2 separate regions of the Homo sapiens genome follow, and region 2 is linked to region 1. The links are contacts of gene promoters, found by promoter capture Hi-C in blood cells and fetal thymus (Javierre and others, 2016). All regions are on one chromosome and are shown on one strand. Each heading gives the region's core, a stretch centred on a gene start or on the middle of the fragment in contact. The rest is flanking DNA. Distances are from core to core; before and after follow the strand shown. Region 1 holds the start of ATP5F1E (ATP synthase F1 subunit epsilon). Region 2 has its middle 33 kb from the start of GNAS.

The links. The method cuts DNA at HindIII sites, captures the fragments that hold promoters and counts their contacts. A CHiCAGO score of 5 or more calls a contact.
Region 2: a contact is called between a fragment that was not itself captured here and the fragment with the promoter of ATP5F1E in region 1, in 1 of 17 cell types (naive B cells). The highest score is 5.3, in naive B cells.

The regions. Positions count from the first base shown.
Region 1 is chr20:59,029,655-59,037,080 of GRCh38, reverse strand. ATP5F1E (ATP synthase F1 subunit epsilon) reads left to right here and starts at 4,746. Exons shown (of 3, transcript NM_006886.4): 1 at 4,746-4,861; 2 at 6,652-6,778. The coding sequence starts at 4,830. The coding sequence ends at 6,775. PRELID3B (PRELI domain containing 3B) reads left to right here. Exons shown (of 6, transcript NM_016045.3): 4 at 321-391; 5 at 508-610; 6 at 1,955-3,936. The coding sequence ends at 2,074. It overlaps SLMO2-ATP5E (SLMO2-ATP5E readthrough), which reads left to right. Exons shown (of 6, transcript NR_037930.1): 2 at 321-391; 3 at 508-610; 4 at 1,955-2,109; 5 at 6,652-6,778. RefSeq lists a silencer at 4,503-4,792 and an enhancer at 4,813-4,952. The HindIII fragment of the contact is 5,173 bases long and covers 2,386-7,426 here.
Region 2 is chr20:58,920,707-58,928,132 of GRCh38, reverse strand. No RefSeq gene overlaps it. Among named protein-coding and RNA genes, the nearest start is that of GNAS, 33 kb to the right of the region's middle. The HindIII fragment of the contact is 1,949 bases long and covers 1,636-3,584 here.

The DNA.
Region 1 (7,426 bases), core at 3,497-5,996:
CCTGCTTATGTGCTGGCCTAACTTGGCCCTGGATGTTGCTTCCTTACCCTTCCTGCTCTCATGATCTTGCCTATCTCTAAGGGGATAGCACTCAATAAAATGAGTTTGGGATTATGTGTATTATCATTATTATACTTTATTTCCTCAACTTTGCTTTTTAAATAAAAAGTAGGCAGTGAATAGTTTATGCAATAATAGCAGCGGTTTATTTGTTGTTTTGTATGTTTAGTAAGATTTTGGCTTGTGTGTTGATTTTAGCAACATTTTGAATCTTCAGTTCCAAAATGATTTGATCTTTTTTTTTTTTCTTCATTCTGTAGATTTCATTTACAAACATGGTTTCAGTAGATGAGAGACTTATATACAAACCACATCCTCAGGATCCAGAAAAGTGAGTAAAAAATATTTTAACAAATGTATCGTAAAGGGTGTTTAAGGTTTTTTTATCAAGTTTTTTGAAAATGAAAGCTGGGTCATCTGAACCTGTGTGAATATGTTTTGTTCCAGAACTGTTTTGACACAAGAAGCCATAATTACCGTGAAAGGAGTTAGCCTCAGCAGTTACCTTGAAGGACTGATGGCAAGTACGATATCCTCAAATGCTAGTAAAGTAAGTGAGGCTGCTTCTTGGTTATTATTCCCTGGTTCATTTCCTGGGAATGGAATGGGGTGCTGACTGCATGTGTGTCCTTGTAAGCTGACCCTTGCCCATTCTACCATAGGAAACTGCAGCACGTTGGGCAGTTACTTACAAAGGCTCTGGGTTCACATCCAAGCTCTAACTTTTAGCCTTTTAACCTTGGGCAACTAAGTTAACCTTTCTATGCCTCAGTTTCCCGTTTTTAAAGTGGAGATTACCCGTTTTACAGGGTTGGCGTGGAGTGAATGAGATAACATATGGAAAGTGTGTAGCCTGAGGCCCAGCACTGAGGAAGTGCTCGATGATGTGTAGCTGCGTGTCATTTAAGGCACTGTTTCTCAACCTTTTTTCACTGTTGTCTCCCCCACAACTCGTTTTAGACATTTTTTCCCTAATTGCCACCTCCATTAAGTCATATATCATATACATATGTGTGGGCTTTATACATAAAAGAGGGAGATTTTTTCCATCCCCCCAAGAACCAATTTTTGCTTATTGAGAATGCATGATCTGAAACAGTAAGTTTAGAGAAAGATGCCATGCACTGTTACATAACACATGGTGAATGTGGTTATCAAGAGATACTCATGGATGCCTTCTCTGTGCCATGCAGAGTGCTAGGCTAGACAGGGTATACAGCAGGGAGCAAAACAAATGTGGTCCCTGCCCCCGTGGAACTAAGAGGCAGGTGACATTAATCATACAGCATGTAATTAGGAAAGAAAAGGTACAGAAAGGTATGAGAGTGCTTATTGAGTGTTCAGTAACTGATGTTTCTGCTGACTGCCAAATGGGGGCAGGTGGATTGCGAGGGGTATTCCAAGAAGAGTGTTCTAGGTGGAGGAGCTGCGTGTGCAAAGGCCCTGAGACAGGAAGTAGGGAATGCTCTGTTTTTCAAGGAACTATATAGAACACTAGGAGAGAAGGGGTGAGGAGTGAGTTGAGGACCAGATCCTGCAGGACCTTGCACAGGATTTTGGTTTAAAATGTAAAGAAAAGGGATTTGACCTTCTTGCCCCTAAAAAGGGGACCACTATAATCATGAAACAAATAAGACATTCTGTCATTTAATTGTAGATTCATTTGAGAACATCTTTTGCATACAAAGTAAAAGTCAGTTTATGGATCAAGCCAGTTGCTCAAGGCATTTGATGTTTGCTAAATAACATTAGAAAAAGCCAGGACAAAAACGATCTGTCATCCTGAGATTGAGTTAAACTTGTCACGCCCCTTGTTACTTCCTGGTGTGTCATTAGTTCGATATATGCCTTTGCTCTCCCTCAGTAACAATAAATGTATTGGATTTTTTTTAAGGGCCGAGAAGCAATGGAATGGGTAATACATAAATTAAATGCTGAGATTGAAGAACTGACAGCCTCAGCAAGAGGAACCATAAGGACTCCAATGGCAGCAGCAGCGTTTGCAGAGAAGTGATCGTGACAGTTGGTAGACAACATCGGGTACTCCAGGTCTCTCCAAACTGACTATATATTTATTTGTTATTTTAAAAATACAACTATATTTTGGGTAGTTTTTTTTTTTTTTTTTTTGATAAGTTGGTGTAAGGCTATGTGACTTGATCAAAACAGATGCAGGGCCTCTAAATAAAAGGGATCATCTGAAATTAATGTTGTTTGAAATTACTATCTGATTTTGAGGGTTCCAGTATTTCTGTGAAAATTCAACAAGAACTCCTTGGAAACTGGTATTGATATTCAGTCTCCTTAAGGTAGATTTTTCAAGCTTTTCATACATTGGAACTCCACCTGACTTTGGACCAACCCCAGAACAGAGCAGAGCCACCTCCTATAGACGCCCATTGCCCTGCTGCTGTACACTTCAGCAGCTTGCACAAGGGAGCTCACTTAAAAGGAGAAATTGTGTAGTTTTAAAATATATTTTGTGTAAAATACCTTACTATGCTATAAACCACCATTAAAAACCAGTGTTTTGATTTGGTACTTAAATATTTTTGGAGTGAAAATTATCACTAAAGTAACATGACTCCAACAAAAGTATGGTTTCATTATAAAAGAGTACTGTATTGATTTGCCCAAGTTTTGTAACTTAGTAAAGGTATTAACTTCCTTGGATTTGTACTTTGTGATTTAGTATGCTGTATCGTGGGCTGGTTATGTTAACTGAAAAAAATAAAGTCATTACCTGAGTTTTGCAGTGCTCTAACTTAAACAGAAGAACAGCTGTTCACATCTTTTAGCATTTTACATTTGCCTAACTTAAAAATTGCCATGTGTCAAAATCATGGTTTTGTAATTGCTAAGGCATGATATGTCAGGTTATTTGAATATAATTACTTTTTGAAGTAATTGTGACCACAAAACATCTTTTTTACATGAAGGAGCTGTGTATCATTTGAAATTACTCAAATGATGTCTTGCTCTGAGGCATAAATCCCAGGTACTTAGTGTTTTTAATAATATGGTGCCACTGCAGGATTTGGGGGCGGTGGGGAAGAACAAGCATAATGGTAGGGGGAGGCTTGGCCTGAAACTAACCACTGAGTGAATTGCACTGCAGGTTTTACTTAACGGGAATTCCTTATTTGGGATGTCAAGAGGGCAGCTGCAAACTGAAAAACAATCCAGTAAATGTACTTTGTTTTATGTATTGTAGCAGGCAATTAACTACTAAATAATAGCTTTGACATTTGCAATTGTTGCATAGAGACTATTTTTGCTAGAAGATGATTAGCTCTTGCCTTTATTTTACAGTGCTTAGTGTGATAAACTTCTAGTCATGTTTCCTATCCAAGAGACCAGTTAATATATGTACATAAACCACAGAAATAGTATAACACACTATTTTTAAATTATCGTTTTCCTACTTAAATTTTGTTTAGCTTAAGACTTCTTAGGACATTTGTAAAAGCAGGTTAAATTTAATAAGGTTTCTGATTTTTTTTTGTAACCGGAGATAGTTTTTACAAGTGAAATAACATTTCAGCTAAATAAAACATCGCTAAATAATTGATATTTGATGAAAATCTGCTTTGTATAATTTCTGTAAATTATCCTTGTTCTGAAAAAGGTGTAATGCCCTAATATTTTTAAATCCTTATCCTTTGATTTTTTAAAAACTGACCTATTGATAAAACTATAAATTTTCATTTTCCAGTGCAGTTAGTTACCTTTTTAAACATAAATGCACAACAAGCAAATGAATTTAAGAGAACTAAACTGGAATAAGTGTTCATAAATGAAACCCTTGGACTATTTAATAAAGTTGAAATGTGAATTAAGGAAAACTTTTGTTAATAAAAACTTTCTTTTAAGTGATGTTTTTCCTGATTATAATTTCTTTTTAGTAATTAAAGGTGAAGGGCAAAGGCTTTTTTTTCTTTATGAGAGAAACACTTTAATTCCTAGACTGTGAGCCTTCACTGCGTTGGGTTAGTTTCTCTAAATCACAGGCTCTGAGATGAGCATTTTCCCGGCCGCCTGGCAGTTCCCTGTGCCTCCAGTGGGTTTTCCTCACATTTTTCTTCCCATCCATTCCGGGCAACAGTGACAACTGTTGCCTTACCCTCCGTCTTGTCGCACATCGGAAGCAGGTCCTAGAACTACAGAAAACGCTAGGGGGTCCTCCACTGGGTTTCCAGGGTTTAGTGTCACTCCGAGAAAGGGGGTGCCCTAAGAGCCTTTCTAAATCTCAGCTCTCAGGACACGCTTGTCTGTCCACAGATTTAAAAAAGCCGGCGCCGTTTCCCTGAAGCGGGCGCAAAGCCAGGCCCTCGGGGCGGCCGTGCCCGCGCCGCCTCGCGTCCTCGCTTCCCGAAAGCACGCGGCTCAGTGGTCCTTAGCGAGCGGGGACACCCCGGCCTTCTTGCCCCCGTCGTCCCCGCCGGGGTAATACGGAAGGTCGGGGGACACACGCCCCGGGAGCTCTTGGAGCCAATAGGTGGGCGCGGCCGGCCGGCCCGCCCCGGGATTGGCACCCGCAGTCCAGACCGCGCGCGCCCATTGGCTCCCGGCGCCGGGGGGCTTCCGCGGCAGGGCAGCAGGGGCCGTGCTCAGGGGCGGGGCCGGGTAGGAGGCGGTGATTGGCAGGTCCGCACGCCCCGCCTCTTCCGCTTCTGTGGTCTGATCTTCCTGCGGCTGAACCGCCCGGCTGAGCCGACATTGCCGGCGTCTTGGCGATTCGGCCCGACGAGCTCCGCTTTCGCTACAGCATGGTGGCCTACTGGAGACAGGCTGGACTCAGGTAGGCCCAGGCCTCCAGAGGGAAGGGCTTCGCGAGCCGGCCCGCGCGCATCCCGGTGCCCAGAGGTCATGCAGGACACAGAGCAGCGGCCCCACGCGTGACCGGGGTTGGGCCAAGCCTCGGGCGTCGCCGCCAAGATGGCGTCGCTGTGGGCAAAGCGCTCAGGCGGGCGCGGCCTCGACCTCGCGTGGGAGCGCGTCTGTGTCCTGCCTCGCTTCCCGACGGTGCGGCCCAGCACCCACAGAGTGCCCCTGGACACCTTTGTGAATGGCAGGTTTCTCGAGAGAGAGGCCAGCTCTTATTTAGCAAACCTTTTTCTTCTAGAATGGTGCTGGAGCCAGGTGGTGAAAGTAGTACAGTCACATCCACCTCGGGAAACAGGAGATTTCTCTCCACGTGACCGCCGTTAGCAGCTTTGACCTTTAATCCAGCATCGAGGTGGAGCCTTTTACAACTTTACACATTTTTTTTTTAAACTTTTAAGTCCTGTTGATTTCAGGTTTCCTTATGTCTAAAAGGGGTGAAAGCCATAACTGTCGAGAGCCCCTCACAAAGATGAGAGGTGGCTCCTGGAAAGCTCAAATATGGAACCCACTTGAGGACATGGTGTCTCATAGTGGAACCGCAAACCATTGGTCTAGCTGTCACATCCGATTTTTTTTTACCCGTGCACCTGAGTGAGCAGAAGTACCTTGCTCTAGGTGACACACCTTGTTAGTTGACTGGATGGTGTAGCACTTTACATTTTGTGGGTACACTACAGCGGAGCTTCCCGACTTGCTGAGGTCAAGCCAGCGAAGTCTTGTAGAATTGGAAGGATGGAAGGATGATAGTCCCAGTAGTAGATACCGTTTATTAGGCAACCTACCCTGTGATCCATACTTTTTCACACTTGTTTTTCCTCCTCCCAGCTATCAGCAGGACAGGTATTATTGTCCTTTTATTCTGTTGTTTTTTTCAGGTGAGTGAGTAAACGTGCTGAAAAGGTTGAACAGCCTGAAGGTCACCCAGTTAGTAAGAATGGAAGCAGGCATTGGAACTCATACCTCTGAGTCCCCAAAATAAATTCTAAAACATGAGAAAATAGCACCCCTCCCCGCTTCCTGTTTTTCAAAAGTGGGAAAGGTGATCTGACATCTTTTGGAAACTACAGTGTTGATGGGAGTCCATCTACCAAACAGGAAGCAGGTTTTACAGTTTTGCTAGAATTGATGATGTTCTCTAAGCACTTTTCAGTTTGATTTAGAAATCTTCATTAGGAGGTTATTTTCAGTGGCAGACTTGTGAGACAGAATTCAGTATTCTCAGAGAAGAGTTTAAATAATTTAGAACGAATTGTTTTAATTCAAAATAGTTTTCTCTTATGTATACCTCATTTTCCAAGAATAATATAATTAAAGTTTTAAGGAGAGAAATCGAGGAGAGAATTCATGATTCATGTTATAGTCTCTAAACATTTCAGTCTCTTTTTTTCTATGCTGTGGGATTTTTAAAAACATTTATGCATCTTTCATTTTGAATTAATATACACTAAAGAGAAAACACAGTACAAAGAAGAAAAATCAAAGATCATCCATCCAAACACCAGTTAATACTTTGGTACATTTTTTTCTAGTTCTTTTTCTTTGTATAGATACTTTTTGGCATTAGTCATATTTTTAAATCCAATTCTACAATAAGGTACAACCAAACCAAAATAAAAAGTACAGGAAGAAAAGCGAAAACACAGTAACAGCTGTCTGGCTGGAATATTGATAATTAACCATATACCTTCTCTCATTTTCTCCCAGCTACATCCGATACTCCCAGATCTGTGCAAAAGCAGTGAGAGATGCACTGAAGACAGAATTCAAAGCAAATGCTGAGAAGACTTCTGGCAGCAACGTAAAAATTGTGAAAGTAAAGAAGGAATAATCTGTAAGTTATGGATTTATTTAGAAGAACAGTTGCATCTTAAGTTTTTGGAGCACCATAAAGATCAAAATAATTTTAGTTTTGGGTTCTATTCATTTTTTAGTCAGTGTATTTGGAAGTTAGTTATTGGGATGGTATAATTTAAAGCATGCAGGTTATAGAAGTCCCCTGGCCTAATAAAAAGAAAGTCTTCTTGGGCCCTGACAAGCAGAAGTAATTGGCACATTGATTTTCAGTTCATTTAGCAATGCTTAGGTAGAGAGCCATCGTATTTGAATTAAACCTGTTTCATTTGTCTGCACAAATCAAATAATTTGGAGGATGAACTCCCCACTTGTATAATTGCAATTGGAGTTACATAACAGTCCAAGAGCATGAAAAACTACAGTTCTTTACATTTTTATTTCCCCCACAACCACTAATGTTCTCACAAATCACTACTTCCCGAACATAATAACTACAGGCACAGGCAAGGGTCCTGCTGTTGTATCAAGCAATAAAATCTGCAAGACCCCGCAGCGAATACTGTTTTGCTAATTTATTATGCTTTCAGAGGGTTTGGTTCATTTTACTTTTCCAAAGATGTTGGTGATGTAAAGTTAAATTCTCGTGAAATAAAAAGGTCTGTACAGTTGATAAGTGTAGACTTTT
Region 2 (7,426 bases), core at 1,361-3,860, 110 kb after region 1:
TGGCCCCTAGAAGCACTAGACAGAGGTGACCACTCCATTCCTCTTGAAACACTGGCTTCCCTTGGCCGTCTCCTAATTGCCGTTTCCTTCTCAGAACTTTCTTTCTCGGCTGGTTTCTGTTATGGTCCTCTCGGAACCTCTAGGTGTTAGAAGACTGCACCTCTTGGTGCTGCTGTTGTTCTTAGTCACCTGTCTTATGCTCTGGAGAACACTCCAGCACTCTTTAGTGAAATTAAGTGCCTGCTCTTCTACCCAGAAACCCCACTGCTGGGTATGTGTCCCAAAGCTGTGTCCTCTGGGTCTGTAGGCGCCTTGTGCAGGCATGAGTCCACACAGCCTTGTTTGGTGTAGCAGGGAGTGGAAGGCAGCCTGGGGGGTCCATAGTAATCATCAGGATCATCAGGACTGTTCTAGAAGTGCCAGCTTTCCTCTCCTGCTGCCACATGCTAGAATGGAACTTCCCTGCCATATGGGGTTAGGTGGAGCCGGGTGACTTATCTGGGCATGGAAATGTGTGCAGAAGTGACGTGTACCACTACCAAATGAGTCAGGGAATGCTTTGCTGTGCCTTTTTGTCTGGCATAGCAAGCGACAGTAATAGAGAGGGCACCTAGGTCCCTGGGTGATAACAAGAGCAGAACCCTCCTGTTGGTCTACAGTGGTCATGCGGTCTGAATGAGAAATGAGCATTTGTGCCTAAACTGTTACTGTCTCAGGAGTGTATGTTACAGCAACATAACCTACTCTATCCTGACTGACGCAGGGAAACATGTAGACACTGGAAGCAATGACAGCACACACACAGCAATGTGCATAGATCTGAGAAACAGAGCCGGGTGAGGAAGACACAGAATGAGATCTGTAAGCATATCATTTGTGCCAATTAAAAATAATGGGCCCTTTGGCTGGGGATGGTGGCTCATGCCTATAATCGCAGCACTTTGGGAGGCCAGGGCAGGCAGATTGCTTCAGCCAAGGAGTTCAAGACCAGTCTTGGTGACACGGTGAAACCTCGCCTCTACTAAAAATACAAAAATTAGCTCAGCATGGTGGTGTGTGTCTGTAGTCCCAGCTACTCACGAGGCTGAGTGGGGAGGATCGCTTGAGCCTGGGAGGTCAAGGCTGCAGTGAGCTGAGATTGCGTCATGCACTCCAGCCTGGGTGACAGAGTGAGACCCCGTCTCAAAAATAAATAAAATACATAAATAATAAAAACAATGTGCCCCAAACAATGTACATGTTTTTCAATAACACAAAGAGAAGGAACATATCAGACATACTGGAATTGCTGCCTACAGGCAAAGAGAAGTGCAGCTAAGGGGAATAAGTAAATAAATAAAACAAGCACCTTGCACACACCAGTGAAAGTCTGGCCACAGAATGAGGAAGATAACGATTCCCACCTCCGGAGATCCAATAGGGGGGAAAAGATCACTGCTGTGTATCTCCTCCCTGGGGCATCCAGTAATACCAGTTAGGCCTTTTAAGCATATTCACACAAAGATACATTCTCCCCTCAACACCACATGCACACTAACCGCCTTTTAATAGAAATAGAAGCACGCCAGTGAATACACTGCTCAGCCCGTTGCCTGCTTCTCAGCCTGTGACGGTGAGGTTGGAAGCTCTGAAGCTTGGGACAGGCTTTGTCACAGACTGAAAAAGAGATTTGGTCTAGGGGAATGAGGCCAAATGCAGATATACACCCTTGCTCTTTACAGAGTATTAGGAACCTTTCAACTAATTTTGCCTTTTGTTTAAGGTATTTTATATTGCATTTCTGTTACATATAACAAATCCCGACTAATACATCTGAATGCCCCTTTGATCATATATTAAATTTCCATAAACTTTGGCCTGTTTCTGGTCTTCTGTTTTGTTCCCAGGCTCTGTCTGTTCCTGTACTAGAACCACACTAGAACGTGTTATAATATGTGTGATATCTGGTAGGGCAACCCCATGGCCAACAGCCTTCACTGTTGGAATTCTATTTGCTATTCTCTGAGATAATTTATTCTTCCAGATGAACTATAAGATGATTTTGCCACATTAAAAAGATCAGGTTACTCTGGGGTTGCATTAAATTTAGAGTTAACTTAGAGCAGAGCTGTCCGATCTCTTGCCTTCCCTGGACCACACTGGAAGAAGAATTGTCTTGGGCTGCACATAAAATATACTAGCAATAGCTGGTGAGTTAAAAGAAAAATCTCCTAATGTTGTAAGACAGTTTATGAATTTGTGTTGGGCCACATTCAAAGCTGTCCTGGGCTGCATGTGCATGGCTAATTTTTGCATTTTTTGTAGAGACAGGGTTTTACCATGTTGGCCAGGCTGGTCTCGAACTCCTGACCTTAAGCGATCCTCCTGCCTTGGCCTCCAAAAGTGCTGGGATTACAGGCGTGAGCCACCATGCTTCATCTGGGATTTAAAAAATGACTGCCTTACACACACGCACACGCACACACACACTCTTGCACACACCCCACACACACTGTTATACACACCCATACTCACACACATTCATACAACTGTGGCCCTTGGCAGGGCTGTTGCTACTTCCTGTCAAAGTAGCGAGTGAGCAGGCAGGTGAAGCTCCCCTCCACCAGGCAAGGTCTTGGACGGTTCCTGAGGGTTAAAAGCTGGGCTTCTGGAACCAAAGTGGGGCTGGAACCCCAGCTCTGCCCGTGAGCTGCTCCCTGACTTCTGGCAAGGGACACCTCTCGGAGCCTCAGTTTCTGCCTTTATAAACAGTGAGATTTTAAAATATAATGTAAGGTAGTCTAATATAATATAAATTATATATGGTTTAATATGTAATATGTAATTCACCTTATACAGGTGTAATTATATGATATGAAATATACTGTGTAAATATAAATATGTAGTAATGTAAAAGTACAGTGTTATAATATATAATAAAATATAATGTAGCACAGTATAATATAAATTATATAATTTAATGTAATATATCGAGTTATGCATATATAATTAGAAAATGATATAAAAGTTATACATTTAAATTGAAGTTATGTAGCCTTAATCCATATAATAAAATATAATATATTGTCATATAATATGATATAAATTATATATAACAATATACAATATCATATCACTTTGTACATGTATAATTGTAACACATGAATATATAAATATAAATATGTAGTAATATAAAATATAACAATATTAATAACCTATAACATATAAACTATATAATGTAATATAAATTATATGCAATTTAATATGTAACATATTACATAAGTATAATTACACTATAAAGTATATTATAGAAATACATTTGTAGTAATATGTTAATTTATATTATGTAACAGAAATAGGATTTAAAGCCTCTTAATTGTTATGAGCATTAAAGTATTTCAACAGGGTCTGGCACGTAATAGACACTCAGTGCCTATGAGAATCTTACCGTTGTGGTTGTATGGTGTAAGAATAGCAAGCACTTAAGTAGTACACGTGTGCATGGTAAGTACTCCATCAATGCTAACTTTTATTATTATAGTTAGATAGTATACGAGTATTAAGAGACTTAGAATGGGGCCTGGGCACTCAGTGAGTGTTAAGCTTTTATTATCGTACACCAGGTGAATTTTCTGTGGGGGTTTTCTAAGCTGTACAATCATATCATCCACACGTAATCACAATATTACCTTCTCCTTTCTCATATTTTCGACTTCAATTTTTTTTGGTCTAATTGTGCGAACCATCACTTCCAGACCAAAATTAATAGTGGTGAGAATAGGTACTGTTTTGTTGTTCCTGACTTCAAGAATATTAAGAATATTGCTGGCTGTTGGATCCATACATGCACAGGCACACACATGAAATGACATCAAACAAGCATTTTTTAATTATCATTTTGCCAAGGGCTTTTGTTTAAAAAACAAAACAAAACAAAACAGAAAGGGACTCAATGCTCTTAGATGCCTTTCAACCCTATTAAGCTGCCAAAGGCGTCTTCTCTTTTGACCCATTAACATGGACGGTATATAGGCAAACTTCGTGATACTCATCCTTTGCATTCTATGGTAAGCCCTTTCGCTATAGTCTGCATTTTGTTTGCTATGATTTAGAGCTTACTTTGTAAAAAGTGTGTCAAGCATGGGAGAAGGAGACCCAAAGCATCAGTATCATTGTAGGAAAAATCAAATGAGCAAGAAGCAAAGCCCAATATGGCAGCATTCTTCTAAATGTTACCATTGTTGAACTAGCGCTAACAAATGCATGCAAAAGAAAATTCATTGGCATTGTTTATTTCAAGAGCAGCGACAGAAATTAATCCTCAAAACTCCAATGAATTTAAACTCTCACAGTGAAGATTTGGGTTTCAGAAGATGCACTGAATTATCCATGACAAAGCCCTCACTGTGGTCAGATGTGTAGATCAGTTAATTCTATGTCTTTTTATAATTGCAAAAAAGTGACTTTTTTTTTTTTTTTTTTTTTTTTGAGAGAGGGTCTCACTCTGTCACCCAGACTGGAGTGCAATGGTGCAATCCTGGCTCACTGCAACCTCTGCCTCCTGCGTTCAAGTGATTCACCTGCCTCAGCCTCCCGAGTAGCTGGGACTATGGAACTACAGGCACGTGCCAGCATGCCTGGCTAATTTTTGTATTTTTAGTAGAGGCGGGGTTTCGCCATGTTAGCCAGGCTGGTGTCAAACTCCTGACCTCAAGTGACCTGCCCACCTCGGCTTCCGAATGAAAATTTAAATGTTTATTTGAGGTAAGCAAGTGAAAAAGCTTTTTTCTTTCTTTTTTTAGACATAAAGAAATAAAAGACTCAGCATTTATTTTCAACCTACGTACTGCCTTTGTGGAATCAAGTTTCACTGAGACTTGAACATGACTTGAGTGAACTTATATTGTCACAGGCTCTCAAAAGAATTCTTGGCCCACACCAAGAATTTCAATGGTTTCTCCACTACTATTAGTTCTTAGTAAAAGTAAAAACCTTAAGGCAAATGATAAACTACTATTACAATTTCAATTTATTGCTGAAACTGCTATGAGAATATTTTAACTTCTATAGGAAGGTAACAGAAATGCTTATAGTTGTGGATGAAGGCAATTATATAATTCCATGTGGGATAATTTCTCGGTTGTACAATGAGCTATAATTTTATGGGTAAAGGCTTAACACTTTGTTGTCATGTACTGTTGCTGTAAATTGAACCAGGTAAAGCAAGTTTAATTCACAGCAACAGTACTTGCAGGTAATCAATTTTTGCATTTCCACTTCTAATTAAGAAAAGGCCTCTACTCTTTTGTGCAATTTAGCCATTTCTGCATTCAATTCTTGTTCCTAGAAACAAATAAGAATTATTCTAGCTATTCCAGTGATGATAATTCTCTTCTTTGAGAAGATGAGTAAACTTTAATATTTCCTTAAAATTTTGCATATCAGCAGTCTGGTTTCTCCCTCAGCTTTTACCATTTCTCATTAGGAGCCTCTGTTTCTTTGACTGATAGCTTTTTAAGGCCAATCTAAGTATGATCTGGTACAAAAAGTTTTTCGGTTTGGAATTAAGGATAACATTTTAGTACCCAATTAGCTGAATGAAACTAGATTAAAGAGCTCCCCCATACTTTAGGAGGCCAAGACATTTCAATCTCAAGAGCCATCAGAAAAAAATTTGTCATTCTGAACACTGCTACTGAAGGCTATAATTCAGACGGAAGGATGAAACTGAGAGAGGGAAATATTGAATAACTACAGATTTACCAAATGCAATGTGATTTTTAGTGATCCTTCAGTTTCAAATCATAAAAACCTAAAGAACGCAGTTCAGAATGCCCTCCCTGGCCAGTTCCTACAATTTCCAAGAATGCTGTTTGCTAATGAGCTATAAAATACTAAAGCAAGTACCAATCAGGGGATAAATGATGGGAAAACACAAAAGCATTCTTAACCTTTGCTCCAGGAGCTGTTTGGTAATCCCAACCCTGCACTCAATTTTCCATTTCTCAATGTCTTTCTTCCCTCAAACTCCATTTGATGGGACACTCTGTTTCCTTTGAGACAACCTGACCTTGGGGAACAGGGTCACAATATTTTTTCTTTATTTCTCTCCTTTTGGAAAAAGAGAAGAACCAATTCTTATCTCTGGTTCATGGATCCTTATTTCTATTGGCTGATCTCAATTTTTCTCAAACTTGAACTTCATCTCTGAAGCAGTGAAGTGTGTATGTGAGGAGGACTGCAGGTAGACGGGGTTCCTAGACTTGCCTTCCCATTATTGCAAAAGCCACCTTGACAAGGCCGTCAATTTCCAGAGAAAAGTGATGGAAACGCCCCCCTATTTCCCCAGTTGGTTCATTTCACATCTCTTCAAGGACTGTTGGCTTTGTGCCAGGCACTGCTTTGGGCTCCACGGATACAGCAGCGCCTTTTATCCCAGACTCTGACACCTGAGCCCTACCCTCCTTCACTCTCCTCTGCATGCAACCCCAAATCCCACCTCCTCCCAGGAAAGTGTGTGTCACCAATTTTGGAAACGGAAGATCCTTAGAGATGCAAGGATCTCTAAGCAGCAAGATGTGAAAGTCATTAATTACAAAAATACAGTTTTGTCTCAAAATGTATGCTGGAAATTTGTGGTGTGCCCCAGGGCCTTCCTCGTGGGGGCATCTGCCACCTCAAGCTCCTTTCTCCAACCTTCACCCTCTTCCCACCCTTTGAGTCTCAGTTCAAAGATTACCCCCTCAGAGAGTTCTTCCCTAGCAACACCTTCTAAAATGATACCCCTACAACCACCACACCACATGAGCTTGCTGTAGATAAACTTTGTGACTGTCTGAATTATCTTAATTATTTATTTGGTTACCATTGTATCATCTCAGTTCTCCCTCTAGCATGAGAATGGTTTTCTACCCCATTGGCTGCTGTCACCTGACCACCTAGCACAGGGCTTGGCGGATTGTTGAGTGTCTAATAAATACTTGCTGAATGGATAAAAGTCTGTGCTATGACAAAGGATGAAAACATTTGTTCTTAAAATATGAAAAAATTACTCCTAGTAGATTTATACCAAGAAATTACCAGACCATCATGGTGATGAAAGACTAACCCAGAAATTTATATCAATAATCCCCCTCTCCTCTACCTCACCAAGCCCCATATAGATGAAACCCCACTTTGGAAATGTGATTTGCCTCACAGTACAGGGAATGCCCCATTTGAACAAAACCAGCCTGTCCTGGGCACCATCATCTTGTTCAGCCTTAGCCCTAAGGAGGCACTCAACAAAGTTGTGGTTGGGAAAAAGATCTCCTAAACAACATATTATCCATCATTCAGCAACACCACTGCATTTCTTTCCAATCTTACAATCTTGGGTGTTTTCTTGAATCAAGCACCTTGCGTTGGGGGTTTTCTCTCTGTTCAAATCCCCCCTCCTTCTGTCTCT